Linked DNA regions of Homo sapiens: regions 1 and 3 are each linked to region 2. Evidence: promoter capture Hi-C in 16 types of primary human blood cells and fetal thymus (Javierre and others, 2016). All regions are on one chromosome and are shown on one strand. The core of a region is centred on a gene start or on the middle of the fragment in contact, and the rest is flanking DNA. Distances in the headings are between cores, read along the strand shown. Region 1 overlaps ADORA2B (adenosine A2b receptor). Region 2 holds the start of NCOR1 (nuclear receptor corepressor 1). Region 3 has its middle 29 kb from the start of LRRC75A.

Region 1 (2,916 bases), core at 1-2,500, 260 kb after region 2:
GAGAGACCAGATAGGAGAATGCTGCCCTGGAATGGGGCAGACGTGGAGATGGGGCCTAAGAGAAGTGAATGGAGGGAGAGTTTAAGAAGTGTACCTGGGCCGGGCGTGGTGGCTCACGCCTGCAATCCCAGCACTTTGGAAGGCCGAGGTGGGCAGATCACCTGACGTTGGGAGTTTGAGACCAGCCTGACCAACATGGAGAAACCCTGTCTCTACTGAAAATACAAAATTAGCCGGATGCAGTGGCGCACGCCTGTAATCCCAGCTACTCGCGAGGCTGAGGCAGGAGAATCGTTTAAACCTGGGAGACAGAGGTTGCGGTGACCAAGATCGCACCATTGTACTCCAGCCTGGGCAACAAGAGTGAAACTCTGTCTCAAGAAAAAAAAAAAAAAAGGAAGTGTACCTGACAGGTCCTGGTTCTACAATGTCGTTCAATAAAGCTTTGTAGTTCTCTATGTTTAAAAAACAAAACAAACAAACAAAAAAAAACACTCAGCAGTGGTGCTAAAATCAGCAGTGGAAATCAGGATGTCATAGACAGAAAGCTGCTTTGGGAAGTCTGCAGGTGGCGGGACTGGCGCAAAACAGGTGGCACACCAAAGAAGGTTGGGCGGAGACGGGTGGGAGGAGTTTGAACACATTTAAATGGGGAAGGGAAGAGGCTGCTGTGCAGGAATAATGAACGGTCCAGGGCTCCCATAAAGCAGGAGTTGGGTCCAGAGCCAGGTGGAAGAACTAGCAGCCCCAGACTCCCCAAGACTCGACCACTACTGCGTCTCTCAACCTGCAGGCACCTTAAACACAACCTAGGCAACACCTTCCCAAAGCCCCCATCTTCAGGATGGCATCACCCAGGCGACCGGAAATCTGGGAGTCATCCTGGAGTCTTCTTCTCCTTCATGTCCACATCCAACTGAGTCACCAAGTCCTCTTGAACCTGTCCCGTGTGCCCTGTCTTCCAGCCAGAAGCACACGACTATGTGCTATCGATCAGATCTGCTTGCCAGTCACTCATGCTGACTCATTACTGCTCCACAATGGCAGATCTCACGCACATCAATTCCACTCAGCCTGGCCCTAACTACCCACATTTCTAGGTGTCACTCACTGATTGTGGCTCCAGGGCCCATCTGTGGTTCTCAGGACTCTTTCCTATATGATTTTACCTGTGGCTCCTCTGCTCCAGACTGCTGAACTCCATGGCTGGCATCAAACATCAGCCTTCTCTGGTGCAGAAATTGTGGTTCTACGAGTCTCCAATATCTGTAGAGTCTGCTGCCATCTCCATGGCCTCTGCCCTGGTCATGCTTTTTTCCTTCTCATCTGGATGCCAAGTGGCTACCCTATATCATCTTGTCCCGTCCATTCCTTCCTTCAGCTGTCCACCAGTGACTTTTACAATGCAAACCTGACCATATCAAACTCCAGATTAAAATTGTACCTTGGCATTCCAAGTTCCACCTAATTATCACTCCTCACAAAATCACATTTTAATGACAGTAAAGACACACAGGCCGGGTGCGGTGGCTCATGCCTGTAATCCCAGTACTTTGGGAGGCCGAGGCGAGTAGAACACCTGAGGTCAGGAGTTTGAGACCAGCCTGACCAGCATGGTGAAACCCCGTCTCTACTAAAAACACAAAAATCAGCTGGGCATCGTTGGTGGCATGTGCCCGTAATCTCAGCTACTTGGGAGGCTGAGGCAAGAGAATCGCTTGAACCCAGGAGGCAGAGGTTGCAGTGAGCCAAGACTGCACCATTGCACTCCAGCCTGGGCAGTAAGAGCAAAACTGTCTCAAAAAAAAAAAAAAAAAAAAAAAAGACACACATAATCATCCTAAAAAAAGAAGTAGAGGATGATATCAGCAAACCGGAGATTTTTATGAGTTTCTAAAAACAGAAGGTGGACAGGATCATCAGCATGAACCATGGAACCCTAAATTGGAAACATGGATGGCCAGGATGAGAGGCTCCAGTCTAGCAAACAGCAGGGATCAGAATGGGATTAAGAAAAGAACAGATGTCAAGAGGAAGACAGCCTGTGGGCAAGCTTTGGGAGCTGTGGCATTGATCCCCTCCCCCTCCCACACTCTCCCCAAGCTGTGGCTAGAGACCTAGTGATAACGGGTGGGGGAGGGGAAGAGTTTAGGTTATGTACACTCTGCCACACGAGGAATCTCAACCATGTGAATCTAAAAAATGTTTTTCAAAGTCAATTTAAAATCCCTTAGTCTTCATCAAAAGTAAACATATGAATGCTAAAATTGTATTGAAAAATAGAAGAACAAAGGAAAAAAAGCGAAGAAACTCTTACAAAGAATGAGAAAGCACTGGGAACTGTCAGAGAACAGTGATCAGGAAAGGAGGGGACGTCCCCATCTGCCTATTAAGAATCCCAGAGGCGTGGCTCACGCCTGTAATCCCAGCATTTATGGAGGCCGAGGCAGGCAGATCGCTTGAGGTCAGGAGTTCGACACCAGCCTGGCCAATATGGTGAAACCCCATCTCTACCAAAAATACAAAAAATTAGCCACGTGTGGTGGTGCACGCCTGTAATCCTAGCTACTCGAGAGGCTGAGGCAGGAGAATCACTTGAACCCGGGAGGTGAAAGTTGCAGTGAGCCAAGATTGTGCCACTGCACTCCAGCCTGGGTGACAGAACAAGATTCCATCTCAAAAAAAAAAAAAAAAGAATCCCAGAGGCGGCCAGGTGTGGTGGCTCACGCCTGTGGTCCCACAACTTTGGGAGGCCAAGGTGAGTGGATCACTTGAGGTCAGGAGTTCAAGACCAGCCTGGCCAACATGGTGAAACCCCGTCTCTACTAAAAAATACAAAATACAGCCGGACTTGGTGGTACATGCCTGTAGTCCCAGCTACTCGGGAGGGTGAGGCAGGAGAATTGCCTGAGCCCG
Region 2 (2,809 bases), core at 300-2,799:
AAGGGTTCTCTTGTGTTTTAACACAGAAGTCTCCATGCCGTCCAGTTTCCTACCCTAGTCCTACCACACTGTACAATCGGTTTAAAAGGAAGCGTCTTATATATAAGCTCCCACTTATAGGAAGAGTTCCTTCCTCTTCATTTTCGAATTCATTTCTTAAAACTCGGGCCTTTCTCGTAATTATAGGGTTAGACAGCCCGTTATCCGTATGACAGTTTTCCAAAATAGCCAGTTACACCAACTTTGTTATTCCTTCTCACTTTTGGATGGCTTTCTTTACCTTTTTTTTTTTTTTTGAGAGGCTCTGTCGCCCAGGCTGGAGTGCAGTGGAGCGATCTCGGCTCACTGCAACCTCTGTCTCCCGGGTTCAAGCGACTCTTCTGCCTCAGCCTCCCGAGTAGCTGGGACTATAGGCGCGCGCCACCACGCCCAGCTAATTTTTGTATTTTTAGTAGAGAGGGGGTTTCACCATGTTAACTAGGCTGGTCTCGAACTCCTGACTTCGTGATCCGCTCGCCTCGGCCTCCCAAAGTGCTGGGATTACAGGCCTGAGCCACCGCGCCCGGCCCTTTCTTTTTTTTTTTTGAAACGGTCTGGCTCCGTCGCCCAGGCTGGAGTGCAGTGGCGCGACCTAGGTTCGCTGCTACCTCAGCCTCCCGCGTTCAAGCAATTCTCCCACTTCGGTCTCCCCAGTAGCTGGGATTACTGGCGCGCGCCACCACGCCCGCTTAATTTTTGTATTTTTAGTAGTGACGGGGTTTCTCCATGTTCGTCAGGCTGGTCTCGAACTCCTGACCTTAAGTGATGGCCCGCCTCGGCCTCCCTAAGTGCTGGGATTACAAGCGTGACCCACTGCGTCCGGTCGGGCCTGGCTTTTCTAAAGGAACGTATGCGTGCGGTTACGAGGAACCGTCGTTTCCCCAGCAGGGTGAGGCTGAGCGTGCACTTAACAGTCGCGAGGGCCACAGGCTCCTCTTGCAAGTAACTTAAGGTTAAGGAGCAACATCGTGGACAAATCGGCCTCGCCCAGCATTTCAGTGAGGGCTTGGTGCGAATTCCAGCCAGAGCCCTAGAAAGTATCTTGGGCAGGTCGAAATGCACCCCTCCAGCTCCCAGCCACGAGGGGACCGGCTTCCCTGTACGCAGCTCCGGCCAGAGGAGGCCGCCGCCGCCCCACCACGCCGCGGAGGGGTTTGCAGGGTCCCTTCCACGGCCTGGAGTTTTTCCTTTTCCCACGCCTGAGGAAGGCCTCGGGCGCGCGGAACAGACGGGCAGGCGGGGGGCGCACAAGCCCAGGGCACGATGGCAGCAGCGCTGGATCCGGCTGGGCGCTGCTCGGCCCCGTATCCGTCCGAGAGGACCGCCGCTGCCAGGCCTAGAGGAGACATGAAGAGACCGGGCGCAGCGCGACCCGGGAAGCTCCGCCGAGGTAGGAGAGGCGCCCGGCCAGCGGAGGGAGTTGGTCTCCCAACTCTCCGGAAGGAGGAGGAGCCGGCGCTGGAGCCGCCTTAGCCGCGGCTCCGCGGGCTGGGGGGAGGGAGAGGGGTTGAGTCAAGATGGCGGCCAAGGTGGCGAAGCAGCAGCCGCGGCGGCGGCGGCGGCTGGAGTGAGCGTCCGACTCGCCGCGCCGAACGAGGTCCCGGTGTAGGGCCGCGCGCCGTGGCCGCGTCCCACTCCTCAGGCCGGGGCGCACGTCGGCTCCCACGCTTAGCCAGCTCCCGGTGAGTAGGCCCTGGCGCCTGCAACCCCGGCCTCCGGGCTCCTGCTAGTCCGGGGGCTTCCGAGGGCTCCCGGGGCAGCAGCCGCTGGGACGGTTTCTCCGCCGGGCGGGGGGTGTCGCAGGCCTGGGCAGGTCGGGACCCGTCCTGGCCGCCTGGCCTCTTCCACTCGGCAGCCCAGGAGAGAGCCGGGCGCGGCGGGGAGCTCGGGCTGGGCTAGCGGAGGCTTATGGAGTTTGGAGGAAGAATGGGCTGTGGCCGGGCCGGGGCTGGCCCCGAGGTGTCCTGTGCGGAGGGGCGTGCGGAGCCTACAGGGCCTGCGAGGGAGAGCGGGCAGCCGGTGCCCCGGGTGGGGCCGGCGCAGGTGGCGGGCCTGGGCTCACTGAGGCGGAGTTGGTGGCCGACTTGGAAGTGTAGAAGGGGCTGCGGAGGTTGACAGCCATGGACAAGTGCGTGCAGAGTAAATTAGTTCACCTTTCTAACAGACCGCTTCAGGGTGTAATGGCGAAGGCTGGGTACTGGTGGAGATGGCAAAGATCCGAACACTATACCTTCTGCCGTTTATTGTTGGTGTTTTCTTAAGCGAAGTCCGTAAGTGCACCCCTTTTTGGGGAGAGAGGAATTTGAGAAACTGTAGTTGTGAAATCAGCCTTTATGGAGAGGAGACTGAATTCTTCAAATTAACTGGATCAGGAATAGTCATGTATTAAAGGAATGGATGGGAATAAGTGATATGGACGAAAACTATTTGCTCAGGAAGTGTCAGTTTTCTTTATGTGATGTTGCATGCTGCGGTGCCTCTTCCACAGAGTTAACCTTGGAGAGTAGTAGTATAGGTAATTCTAATCTTTGGGATTAGTATGTAAACCTGCATCAGATTTGCTTCTCTAATTATATCCTAATTATATTGAAATTTACATTCCTTGTGTGCACCCTGGTGAGGCAGTGATGGAAGGCTGAACATGGCACTGTGCAAGGAGCAACAGGCCCGGGATTTAAAAATGCCTACAAAGATTCATTCATTCGTTCAATATATCTTGATCAATAGCTGCTGATGCTGGGTCACATGTGATTGTCCTGTGGATAACTGA
Region 3 (2,700 bases), core at 124-2,623, 310 kb before region 2:
TTCTCTTTCCCCTTCTCCCAGCTTCCCTTCTCCACTACATCTCCGTTATTGCATCAATTTCAGGAATACAGCTCCCAATAAATGGAAACAGTAGGACAATTTCAGTAATCATTTTCAGAATTTCTAGAGTCTTCACTGTAACTATTTTTTAGTTTCAGAGCTACTTGTTTCCCAAAATAAATCAAATCAGAGAAAACACATCTCTAGAATTAATTTTTTTTTTTAAGACAGGGTCTCTCACTGTTACCCCAGCTGGAGTGCAGTGGCACAATCACTGCTCACTGAAATCTTGAACTCCTGGGCTCAAGCACCCAGGCTTCTAAGTAGCTGGGACTACAGGTGCATGCCACCACATCAAGCTAATTTTATTTAATAGTACAGAGGAGGTGTCACTATGTTGCTCAGGCTGGTCTCAAACTCCTGGACTCACGTTATCCTCCCACTTTGGCCTCCCAGACTGCTAGGATTACAGGTGTGAACTACTGTGCCTGGCCTAGAGTGAATCTTTAGAATCCACCTCTACTGTGATGTGTCAATATAAGTTAGCAAGAACCAGTGACTTCTGAGTATATGAGTTCCAAACTTCGACATTTCCAAAGTCCCACCTCTGATGGCATTTGTAGGTGACCCCTTAGAGAAAACTTACAGTGTTCTCGCAGGTGCCAAAATTTATGCTGCTTTTTGCCCAACAGTTGGTTAGATATCTCAAGCAACTAAGAGCGTACTGCCATGGATTATGCCTTAAAGTAATGACGGTGCATTTACCAAACCACTCTTCCCTCTCTTACCCTCCAAAAAAATTGCTGTTCTCTCCAGGGCAGCCACAGCTGGAGGGGACGCTAGCTAATCCTCTTATCCCACCACTAGATGGCAGGACAGTCCAGTCTGGCAAATCTCTCTGCCCTGCCTGAACTTCGATGTCCACATCTTTAGTGAAGAGTCTTCCTAACAGAAATGTACTTCCTGGTTAAACATTAGTTTGGACTCAGAGAGCAGACAGGCTCAGATTCAGGCTGAGCCTCCTCCAAGGCAGACAGGTGTTCTCCTGAGGTGCCATTAGGGTTGTACTCATGTGGAGTGAGACGGGGCAAAGCGGAGAGGGAACCAGGGAAGGGAAAGAATTGGTGCTGATCAGATGTCCTGGAGCTTAACTTGCCTGCAGTCTGATGGGTTAGTATGGCAAAGTGGGGCCTGGAAGCCTCAACTCTCTATACCCATATAACCCCTCCACCCCATCCCTCTGCCTCCTGAAGACCCCTGTACAGCAGAGGCCAGTCCCAACAAGGAGGCCAGCACCAGGCTCCCCATCCTCTCTGCTCCAACTCTGTGGGTGTTTAACACACCAAAAGCAAGACTTCTACCAGCCAGGACCCTCTGTGAGCCCCCAGCCAGGAGACAGGCTCTGGGTTCTGAGATGAGGGAAGACGCCGGCATGATGTATGCACCAGCCTTGGGACTCCTAGCAGTACTTCCTTTCTGACACACTATTTTTTCAAAACATCATCCCATCCCTTGACTCAATGCTCTCACTAAGGCCAAGCGCCACGAGGTGACTGTGCCAGAAGCTCCCCAGCCAGTCGGAGCAGCACTGAGATCAGCAGATCCCAGGATCCTACCTCCCAACCTGTTGTCTTCCCAGCACACTGGACTATAGAGAAGACACCCTTGTGATTTGCTACAGGACCCTGCCCCAGCCTCCCTATCAACCTGCACAGTGGTGAGATGCAGTGAGGGCTTCTAGATTATGATCCGGACTAGGATCAGATTGGTCTGGTCTGATGACCCTCTCGGACACTTACTAGCTATGTGACCTTGGGCATGTAGTTTAACCTGTCTGTGCTTTGATGCCTCATCTGTAACATGTGAATTCTTATTGTATCTATGTTTCAAGGCTGTTGTAAGGATAAAATGAGATTGTGTGTGTTAAGGGCTTCCCACAATACCTGACATACAGTGCTCTGTAAATGGCAGAATCAAAAGTTGGATCGAAAATTTAATAGATAGCCACAAAAACAAACAACCCAACCTAAAAATGAGGAAAGACCTGGCCGGGCGCAGTGGCTCACGCCTGTAATCCCAGCACTTTGGGAGGCTGAGGCGGGCAGATCACGAAGTCAGGCGATCAAGACCATCCTGGCCAGCAGGGTGAAACACAGTCTCCTCTGAAATACAAAAAAAATAAGCCCAGTGTGGTGGTGTGTGCCTATAGTCCCAGGTACTCAGGAGACTGAGGCAGAGGAATAGCTTGAACCCGGGAGGCGGAGCTTGCAGTGAGCCGAGATCGCGCCACTGCACTCCAGCCTGGGCAACAAGAGTCAAACTTCCTCTCAAAAAAAAAAAAAAAAAAAAAAAAATGAGGAAAGACCTTTAACAGACATTTCTCCGAAGAAGATATACAAGTGGCCAACAAGCACATGAAAATGTACTCAACATCACTAATCACCAGGGAAATGCAAATCAAGACCACAATGAGAAATCACCTCATACCTGTTAGGATAGCCATTATTGAAAAACAAAACAAAAATCATAAAACGAGGGTTGATGAGGATGTGGAGAAATCGAAGCCCTTGTGCACCATTGGTAAGACTGCGATATGGCCCAGCCACTATAAAAACAGTATGGGCTGGGCACAGTGGCTCAGCCAATAATCCCAGCACTTTGGGAGGCTAAGGCGGGAGGATTGCTTGAGCCCAGAAGTTC

The links. The method cuts DNA at HindIII sites, captures the fragments that hold promoters and counts their contacts. A CHiCAGO score of 5 or more calls a contact.
Region 1: a fragment that was not itself captured here is called in contact with the fragment with the promoter of NCOR1 in region 2 in 1 of 17 cell types (erythroblasts); the score reaches 5.6 in erythroblasts.
Region 3: a contact is called between a fragment that was not itself captured here and the fragment with the promoter of NCOR1 in region 2, in 2 of 17 cell types (M2 macrophages and M0 macrophages). The highest score is 6.1, in M2 macrophages.

The regions. Positions count from the first base shown.
Region 1 is chr17:15,955,499-15,958,414 of GRCh38, reverse strand. The region is part of intron 1 of ADORA2B (adenosine A2b receptor); the gene reads right to left. Among named protein-coding and RNA genes, the nearest start is that of ADORA2B, 12 kb to the right of the region's middle. The HindIII fragment of the contact is 1,610 bases long and covers 446-2,055 here.
Region 2 is chr17:16,214,274-16,217,082 of GRCh38, reverse strand. It overlaps NCOR1 (nuclear receptor corepressor 1), which reads left to right and starts at 1,549. Exons shown (of 46, transcript NM_006311.4): 1 at 1,549-1,721. RefSeq lists enhancers at 1-97, 1,284-1,343, 921-1,836, 1,837-2,753 and a silencer at 1,614-2,083. The HindIII fragment of the contact is 4,024 bases long and covers 1-2,809 here.
Region 3 is chr17:16,519,616-16,522,315 of GRCh38, reverse strand. No RefSeq gene overlaps it. Among named protein-coding and RNA genes, the nearest start is that of LRRC75A, 29 kb to the right of the region's middle. RefSeq lists an enhancer at 975-1,024. The HindIII fragment of the contact is 3,853 bases long and covers 1-2,700 here.